2 separate regions of the Homo sapiens genome follow, and region 2 is linked to region 1. Evidence: promoter capture Hi-C in 16 types of primary human blood cells and fetal thymus (Javierre and others, 2016). All regions are on one chromosome and are shown on one strand. Each heading gives the region's core, a stretch centred on a gene start or on the middle of the fragment in contact. The rest is flanking DNA. Distances are from core to core; before and after follow the strand shown. Region 1 holds the start of TMEM218 (transmembrane protein 218). Region 2 overlaps ZNF202 (zinc finger protein 202).

Region 1 (4,585 bases), core at 203-2,702:
ATAGGGTTGGCCCATTGTTATATCTTGCTTTAAAGTGTTTCCTACTTGTTTCATGTGTTGTTGACCTAACATTACAAAACCACGGGCTATTAAGATGGGAGTCACATCTCATTTCTTGTATATCTTCGCAGTTCCTAACAGAACATAGCTGCAGTCAACACTCAGTTCCAGTGAAATGAATTCATCAAAATAAAGGATTTCTTAGCCACAGAGCTTCTCACTGGGCCAAGTAATGTTAAGTTGCTAAACGCACAACAAATCATTGGTTACTTTATGTGATTGTAAATGAAGCCTCGAAAGTTGAATAAATTTGAGACGTGCAGTTGATGAAATTCAAGCATCTTCTTCTTTTTGGTTCATAAAGCTGTGATTCAGGAGAATTCCTTAAATCAGAGATTCAGTGCTCTAAGATTGAATAGGTTGCTTCATGATATTTCTTAAAATTTTGTTTAAGGTCAAAGGTTCAAACGGTGCAGCTCTCCAATTTGGTATTGATTATTGTTTGTTTCCCCTTCTTGATTCAGTGGTGGAGCACGCAGCCTCTGTCCTACTTCCTTTGGTTGTCCTGATTGATGCATCTTTTGGTCTAACAGGCCATAGCCTCAAAGCAAAGTCATGGCAAGCTTTAGTTGGCAGTTAGGTAACAGCAGTCTGCCAATAGCGTGGGCCAGCTCCAGTTCCAGCAGCCTGGCGGCAGAGGGTTTACTTGATGGACCCTGGGCCTCTTCCCCAGTCTGTCCCGTGGGTAGAATGATCTTTGCCTTTGTCTGTTTCGCAAGGCTAATGGAAGAATTAAATACCAAATAAAACAAGTCGAGATAAAGATAAATGAAGCGTGCCGTTATTACAACTGGTGCTTCGTCCTCAGTTCCCTCCAGGAGGGTTGTTGGGGACACTTAATGACCGGGCCTGAGCTGACTTGTCCACCACATCTTGCGCCCCACTCGAGCTAGTGGGTTGGGGATTGAGATGTTCATCAGGCCCCGGAAAAGGCATTGATGTCTAGATGACTGTGCAGTTCTCTGGAGTTCGAGATCTGAGCTGCCTGGCCCTGCTGCTTCGCTGCCTGGATGGGCAATCTCTATGGTGACAGCGAGTGAGGCCGGAAGAAGTCTCTCTCTTCCGCCCAACAACCCGCCCTCAGGCTAGACTGACCAATGGCCCAATGAGTTACGGAGAGATGGTGTGATTGACAGTGGAGTGGCGGGGGGGCGGGGAGTGCAGCTCGGACCGCTGCTACCCAACCGAACTGAGGTCGGTCCAAAGGCTGACAGGCACCGACCAATCGGAGGGCGTAACGAAGGGTGACGAGCCAACCCACCGCGCTCGGCGTTGCCGGGAGCCGCGCTAGGCGTAAGCTAATGAGGAAGAAGTTGGCCGTTGAAAGAGCAACGCTGATTAGTGAATCTTAAATCACCTAAATGAAAGCCCACTTGTGATTCGCCCTAAGTAAACCAGAGCCCCGTGGGCTGGAACGCGCCGGAATCTGAGGTGTGAGTAGAGCCTGGGGGAGAGTGGATCCAGGTGAAGGGGGCAGAGGTGAGGAAAGCGGGGCGGCTGCGGGGAAGGGAGAAAAGTGGAGGGTCGGGCTGAGGTGGTTGGAAGAAGGCGTGGGCGGACGGCGGTGCACGGACCTCGCAGACCACCCTTACCGCTGATCTGGACCCAAGGCCCGGCTAATAAATACTTAATTGGAGGCAGAGAAGGAAGGACTGTTTTGTTTCATGCTCTTAAGAAAAGGAAGTGTCAGTGCCTGATTCAGATCTCTTATGACCGAGACCTTAATCCCTCTCTAGCTCCTGGGAGGTGGCCAGGTGCACATTCTGAAGACGAGACATGGGGGGCATTGTTTTCCTGTCGCCAGTTTGAATCTGCAACAGGGTTGGGGAGAAGCTTAGAGTTCAAGTGGGGTGTTCCCAGGCTGCAGTGCTGTGAGATCCAGAGAGCGGATAGACCGAGGCTCTGCAGCGCTTCCAACCCACAACACCGTCCAGGAGAGGGATGCAAGGAAGAGACCTAGGTTTACTGATCCTCCTTTTTCTATCAACGTGTTAAGAGCAGATGCTACATCGGTGGCATTTTGGGAGCTTGGCAACTGATTTTTTCCCCAGGCTTGCATTTTATCTAATTACAAAGGTAGAGGCGTTATTCTAATATTTTAAAATTCAAAAGATAGTGAAGTGTTTAAAGTAGAAACATAAAAGTGTGAAAGTAACCCCCCCCCCCCGTTATTTTTGAAGGTTTGGAAAACAGCTATAAAGCAAAGTGAAAAGGACTCTTCCAGAGGAGCACTTCACTCCTTGTAACCCACTGTTTTCTGTTGCTTTCAAGGGCTTGAGTCAGTGTGAAAATCGGGGGATGGGTGAGATATCTCCCTCCAGCAGCAGCACTTAGGCCACATTACCCTCTGAGGAATCCACATTTGTCTTAGATAGTAAGTCATCTTATAAGTCATCTTATAATGGCAGTTAGTATTCTCGCTCATGATGATCAACCTGGTGATGAGTACCGTATTTTTAATCCATTAGGTTACCTGTGCAGGGATCAGTCCATTTATTCCTATTTTCTCTGACAGCTGGATGAAAGGGTATGTAGAAACAACCATTAAATGAACACACACATCTAAAAGGTTTTGAACAAACTCTCTCAGAGAAAAACCTCACAGCATTGAGCACAGAAGGAAAACATTAGCCCTGTAGTTGCTTTTGTTGTCAGCTGCTGAACTGTTCAAATTTAAATTATTTTTTTTCACTCCAGTCTACCTGCTTTAAATGCCACAGATATTAAGTAAATGGACTTACCCTTGAAATCGGGTTGGCCAAGCCATCACTTCTCAAAGAAGGTTTAATGATGGCATGAACCCGTTTTTATATTTTATTGTATTGTACTCAATAACAATAATTTAGCTATTCTAATATGGGAAATTATCACAGATATTATTCTCACATTTAAATAAGATAAAAATGACTAGATGTTCTCTCTTCCTCTATAGCAGCACTCTATACTATACCCAGCCCTTCTTTTCTATGCTTAGTAAGAAAATGTATAGTTTGCTTATAAAATTATGAGCTCCATTCTTAAAAGAGCTTGGGAATATTTATCTTATTACTTTAAAGCCATACCATATATAAATCCAATGTCTCACGAACTCTTAAGCTACTAAGGGGGATTGAAGGGCAACATTTCTAATGGCGCCAGCCAGCTTCAACTACCATTTGCCCTCTATTCTAACTGTTAGAGTTGGTCCAAGTCTTCTGGGTTATTTGTGTAATATCCAGAATAGCACAAATTAAATTTAAATAGTTGTTTTCTTAAGAGCAGTACCATCAGCTCAGTCAACTAAGCTAGAAACTTGTGTCATTTCTAACACCTTCTCCCTTGACACAGCTAAGACTGGAGGTCAGACCCTCATCATCTCTTATCTGGAGAATTGCAATAGTTTCCTAACTGGTCACCCAATTCATATGCATCCTGCTGCCCATTACCTTTTTAAAAATTAAAAATTATCACGAAAAATTTAAAAACAGAAAATAGTACATTGGGTAGTATAATATCTATGTTCCACCAATCAGATTAATAAATATTAACATTTTGGCACACCAGCTCAAGTTTTTTATTTTAAAGAAATAAAACATCACAGATTTAGTTCAGATCCCTTTTATTTCCACTCCTAACCCCATTCCCTTTCCTTCCTCCCTCTGCAGAGGCAAATAGTCTTTTGAAATTGTCATGTATTGTTTATGCCCATGTTTTTATACTTTTGCTGTATATACGTTCGTCAGAAACAATATATATTACTGTTTAGATTGTATTTAATTTTAAAAATACAAGTAGTATCATACTGTGGGTTCCATTTTGCAACTTGTTTTTGTCACTCAACATTGTTTTTGAGATATATTCACATCAATACATATAGATCAATTTCATTCATTTTAAGTATTCATTATGAATATATAATATTGTATCTGTTCCCTGATTGATGGACATTTAGGTTTTTTCCTGATGTTTTGCTATTGTAAACAAAGCTGCAATAAACACCTTGTACATGTCTCTTTATGCAAGACTGTGTCTAGAACAGTGGTTCCCCAAGAAGATGTTGCTGCCCGTTTTAGGGTGTTTTGGAATTTGTGAAGATGTATTTTGTTATTCTTTGATTGGAGGCACTACTGGGGTTTACAGATCAGGACTGCGGATACTGGATGTTCTGTAATGTATGGGACAGTCCTCACAACGAAGAATTGTCCTGCATCCTGTGCAAATTTTGAGTATCCCACAGGATACTCATTTATAATTATCTGAGTGTAGAGCCTAACTCCGGTTTTTGTATAAACATAATGTATTTTTTGGCACAGTTTAATATAGTAAAATTTCCAGGAATGCAACTCTAATGTAAATCAGAGGAAAATTATACTTATTTGTGGTTTGGAACTTTAACAAGAGTTGTTCATCACTCTAGCAAATCACATAACTGAAGGCAGCACAGCTCGTGGTATTTGAGTTGCCAGAACAACACACCTGCATAGTCTGCATTTGAAGCTTTTGCATTCATGGTGATTCTAAGTTTAGGTGCAAGCATCTGACTACT
Region 2 (4,885 bases), core at 876-3,375, 1.4 Mb after region 1:
CCTCTCCAATCCTATGCATCCTAGGAACACTCAAGACACTAGGTTGTATCTTTGCAGATACTGTTTTAGTGTCTTCTGGAACCAAGTCTCTTACTTAATCCTGGCCTGGTTTCATATTCTCTCTATTGTATTCTCTCTATAGTTTTTGTCTTACTCTGGAACTCTTCCAAGGACAGACATTGAAGAAAGGTATTAGAATAGCAAAGGCAACAAATTGCAAGGTATACTTATGGCATAGCACATCCCATTAATTATAGAATAAAAACACAACATCTGTTTTCTGCCTCTAATATTAAATCTTGACATTTGCACAACACATTTTAGTTCATAAAGCTCTCATATCTCAGATAATCACTGAGTTAGGAGACTGGTTATCTGCAGAGGGCTTTATCCTTTACAAGGGCTCTTGGGTACGTTACTTCACGAAACCCTCAGGGAAGCTCCAGTTTCTTGGGGATCTGGGGCCGGGGCATATGTCTTTGGATACCCAGTTTGGTGCTGTGCACAGCACTGCTGTACCTCCTATTCATTTCCCATCTCTTACCCCACAAAGACTCCTTCCTTCATTCCTTCTATTGCTGATCTGTTTTCCTTCATCTTCCTAGGCTGCCAAAGTAAATGCAAAACAAGCACCAGAAATCTCAGCTTGTGATTTCTGAAGGGCATTTTTAAATGGCAAGTTTGGTGTGGCACTGTTACATGTTCTTTTTTCTTTGGAGAGCAAAGCCCTTTGAGAGAGCAGGAACTCTTCTGTCAATGCATACGTTGTAGGATCCATACTGTGGAATCTCTTGTACCTAGTGCTGCGTGAAAACAATGAGGATTCCAAGTCTACTTCACTGGACGTCGGTTCTCAAACTTTTAAGATACTAGAAGTCCTTTTATTAAGCCAAAAGACCCTATGTATTAATTCTGTCTTCCAGGGGTAGGAGTTGGGGTGGGGTTTGGAAAGCTTTGTCTGGATAAATAATTAGTATTGTAGTTCCATTTATTTGATGTCTGATTTTGCGCTTATTAAAATTGATTTAAATCCTCAATGGAAAATGATTTTTTTTTTTTCAAATGCCAAGTGTTGTGTGACTTGCATTTGGATTATTCCCGGTGCAACCTGAAGATTCCTTGTGATGAGTTGTGGTTCCATCATCTTGGGAACCACTAAGAGAATTCTGTTTTACTCACAATCCAAACAATAAATGTTTTTTTCCCTATGTATGCCTTTATCCAGCACACAGTTTGCTAGACTTATGGATGAATATGGGTTAATATAACATGGTATCTATCCTTCTGGAAACAGACTTTTAAAACCTTACTAAGCATTCTCTGCATTCATCAAATGTGAAGTGAGTGCCTGGTGTGTGCCAGGCATCGAGCTGGGCACAGCATATCCCTGCCCTCAGAGCTTTACAGTCCAGTGAGTTCAACAGAAGATGAACAGTTTTGATGACACAAAAAATAGACACATGTGCATGCTGTGATAGGGGGAGATACAAGTTCCTGTGGAAGCATCATCTGGGAGGACCAGGGAAGGCATCTTGGAAAAACTGAGCTCTGAAAGATGGATAGAGTTAACCACATGAAGAGTGGAGAAGGGTACTTCAGACAAGGTGAACAGCATCAGGAAAGCCCAGGGAGGGTATAGAAAAGAAAGAACAGTAATTCTTGCAGTGGCTTTCAATGGGAGTGGCAGTCATGGAAGGAAGGAGAGGTAGCAGGGACCAGCTTTTGAAGGTCTTTGTGTATCACATTTTAAGAAGTTTAAATTTTAACCTAAGGTCACTGGGAAGCCATTGGCAGATTTTGTATGTTAGGAAGTTCACCACTCACCTACTTGGAGTATTGCAGGTGGAGCTAATGTGGATGGGCCTCCTGCCCATTATTAAATCCTGTTCCTGTCAGGAACAGGACAGCCCATGCTGTCTCTCCCTGTGTGTCTGTCTCTCCCTGTGTGTCTGTCTCTCTCTCTCTCTCTGTCTCTCTCTCTCAAAAGCTAAAGGAAAGCGCATAGGTTCCAGAAGGAAAAAGAAATAACCACTAGAAAAATAAGTATAAGCTGACTTTACCATGGCGCAGTGAGATTCCAAACCAAAATAAGGTTTCTAGGGATTGAGCTTTTAATACTGGTACTCCAACAGGGAGATAGGACTTGGGAAGCTGACGCTGTGTGAAAGTTACAGAATTAAGCAGCCTGCAAACCTGGACCTTTGAAAATCGTCCTACTGACCCAGGAAAAGTGCAAGGAAGTGGGTTCTCCAGAACCTTGGGTAGGCCAAACATTACTTGAAGGCATCGATCTAAATAATACACAAAAGCATTATTCAGGAACACCCTGAGAAATTAACATAAAAACTGATTTGGCCAGGCATGGTGGCTCAGCCTCTGGTAACAGTGCTTTGGGAGGCCAAGGTTGGAAAATCACTTGAGGCCAGGAGATCCAGGCTGTAGTGAGCTATGATTGTACTACTGCACTCCAGCCTGGGCAACAGAGGGAGAGTCTTAAAAAAGCAAACTGTCCAAGATCATTGAAACCATTAGCACTTAGGAAGAAACAAATGAAATTACATTCAAGGGGCTCACATTTAAATCCAGGGCTCTCAGGACTCCCAAAGTAAAAAGATGGACATAAAATAAAAAAATTACAAGCCACTTGAGAAAAAAATAAATCACCATGAGGTAGAGATAGCAGAGGAAAAATTACACATGAAGATCTAGGAATTAGGGAGCTATCCAAGATAGACTGTGAAAGTATGTTGCAAGTGACTGAGGGTAATGAAAAAAATGTCATAAGAGCATGAATTAGAAGCGTTTTGAGAAAGAATGAAGATAATGTGATCATTGACTGTAAACTCATTTGATGGGCAACAATAGATGAGACACAGCTATTAAGAGTGGATCGATAACCTTGAATGTGGATGTGAGGCAACTGTAGTATAGCACAAAAAGGTTGAGAAATGATGGAGCCCTTAAGCTGCTTGTGGACACTGGTCTGGAGGGGGACAGGACCAAGAAAACCAGTCATGGAGGTTGAACTAAGTCATCTCTCCAATGTATCCGTGCCTGTTACGTGCCAGTGCCGTTTAGGAGCAGAGGATATTGTAATTTTTTTTAAAGTTCCTATGAATACCTTCTAGTGGGTCATAATGGCTCAACCGGGAAATGGCAGTAGAGATGAAGAGATGGATGGATTCGAAAGACATTTTTTGGAAGTTGGAATTAACAGGATATGGTGAATAATCAAGAGATAGTAAAAGCATAATGGAGGAAACAATGGTTCTTCCTGTTACCATAGGAAGAAGCTTTGGAGTAGAGTTTTATTCATTTTAAATGCATTTATTGTGCACTTTATTATAGGTATTGGAGATTGATGGAAAATAGTCTCTGACCTCAAAGAGTTTCACAGGAAAGATGAGCGATGGCTATGTAATATGACCAATACTGGGATAGAGAGGTGCCCAGGTCACTACGGGAGGACTTAGGTGATTTCTAACTATGTCTGAGAGTAGGGGAAATGGGATCAAAGAAAACATCTCAGAAGACATGAAGCTTGAGCTTATGTCTTGAAAAATTTAAAGTTTAACCTAACCAAGGATAAAGAATCAGAAGAAACAGCATATTCAAAAGCTAAAGAACACGGGACTCTTGTGTGCTTTGCATGTACACACGTGTGTGCGTGTGTGTCTGAAAGGATTGGAGAGGAGGGCGAAGAGAATAACAAGATGAACGTCAACCTAATGTAGAATGTTTGAAGTTTGTATTTCACTTAACAAGACAGCGGGGAGTGATGGAAGGATCTTAGATAGGAAAGGGACATGAGCACGTTTGCCAAGAGAGCTCGTTCTGATCATAGTGGGTACGTGAAGGTGACAAATCTGGAGGCAGATAGCTCACATTTGGAGGCAGTTGCAGTCATCCAGATGAGAAGTGAGAGGGACCTAAGCTGTAAATTGTGGGAATAAAGACAAGACCCGTTAAAAAGAAAGAGAACACACCATGTAGCGTGGAAAGGAGAAGGGTGGAGAGTAGCCTGTGCAGAAGGAACAACCTTCAAAAAGACATGGAAGACTGAAAAGACACCCTGTTGTAGGGAGATCAGCAATGCATTTTTTATAACCAGGTGATACAGGGAAAAGGTAGGATCTGAAGCTTGAAAAATAGATTGGGGGCTGATTGTAAAGAGCTTCGTGTCATTCCCAGGATTTTGGAACTGATTTTACTAACATGAAAAAGGTTTTGTTTTAAAATACTGAGTAATATAGTTGGAACTATAATTTAGAAAGATAATAGCTGGTGCCATCACTCTTCTAAGCAAAGATAGTAATACATTTAATGCTCATAGGCTTTAGTAATACATTTAATCCTTACAGTAAGCCTATTAGATAAAAACCATTATTATCTCCCTTCTATAGACAGAGAAACTGGCATTAGGAGAATGAGAACTTGCCTATGGTCCCACTCTGGAAATACCTAGTAAGCGACAGAGCCAGGATTCAAACCCAGGCAGCTTGACTCCAGAACTTTCGCTCATAACCTTACACATCTCCCTCATGGTTGGTGTTTCTCAACCATGGATACACATTCGAACTGCAAGTAGCATCTCTAAACATACAGTTACCTGAATTGACTGAATCAGAGTGTCTGAAAAATGATGTGTGATACTATGTTTTGCAAAATCTCCACAGGTAATTCTGTTGTACTTTGCTTATAGTTGAGTACTGCAGGGATCTTAGGAAGTTAGAGCAGTAGTCCAGGCAGGAGATGATGAAGGCTCAAACTAAAGCAGTCTGTAGGAAGGAAGAGAAGGGAACCGGTTTGGAGACTTAAGCGGGGGAATTGGCAGTATTTGTGAAGTGGAAATGCAGTATTTTCTTGCAGAGTATGAACCTTGCCT

The links. Contacts are between HindIII fragments. The CHiCAGO score rates a contact against its expected background, and 5 or more counts as called.
Region 2: a contact is called between a fragment that was not itself captured here and the fragment with the promoter of TMEM218 in region 1, in 1 of 17 cell types (total B cells). The highest score is 5.1, in total B cells.

The regions. Positions count from the first base shown.
Region 1 is chr11:125,108,493-125,113,077 of GRCh38, reverse strand. TMEM218 (transmembrane protein 218) reads left to right here and starts at 1,452. Exons shown (of 5, transcript NM_001258244.2): 1 at 1,452-1,539. RefSeq lists enhancers at 858-1,037, 400-1,312, 1,668-1,757 and a silencer at 1,128-1,197. The HindIII fragment of the contact is 1,270 bases long and covers 626-1,895 here.
Region 2 is chr11:123,731,190-123,736,074 of GRCh38, reverse strand. The region is part of intron 3 of ZNF202 (zinc finger protein 202); the gene reads left to right. Among named protein-coding and RNA genes, the nearest start is that of ZNF202, 8.0 kb to the left of the region's middle. The HindIII fragment of the contact is 2,341 bases long and covers 955-3,295 here.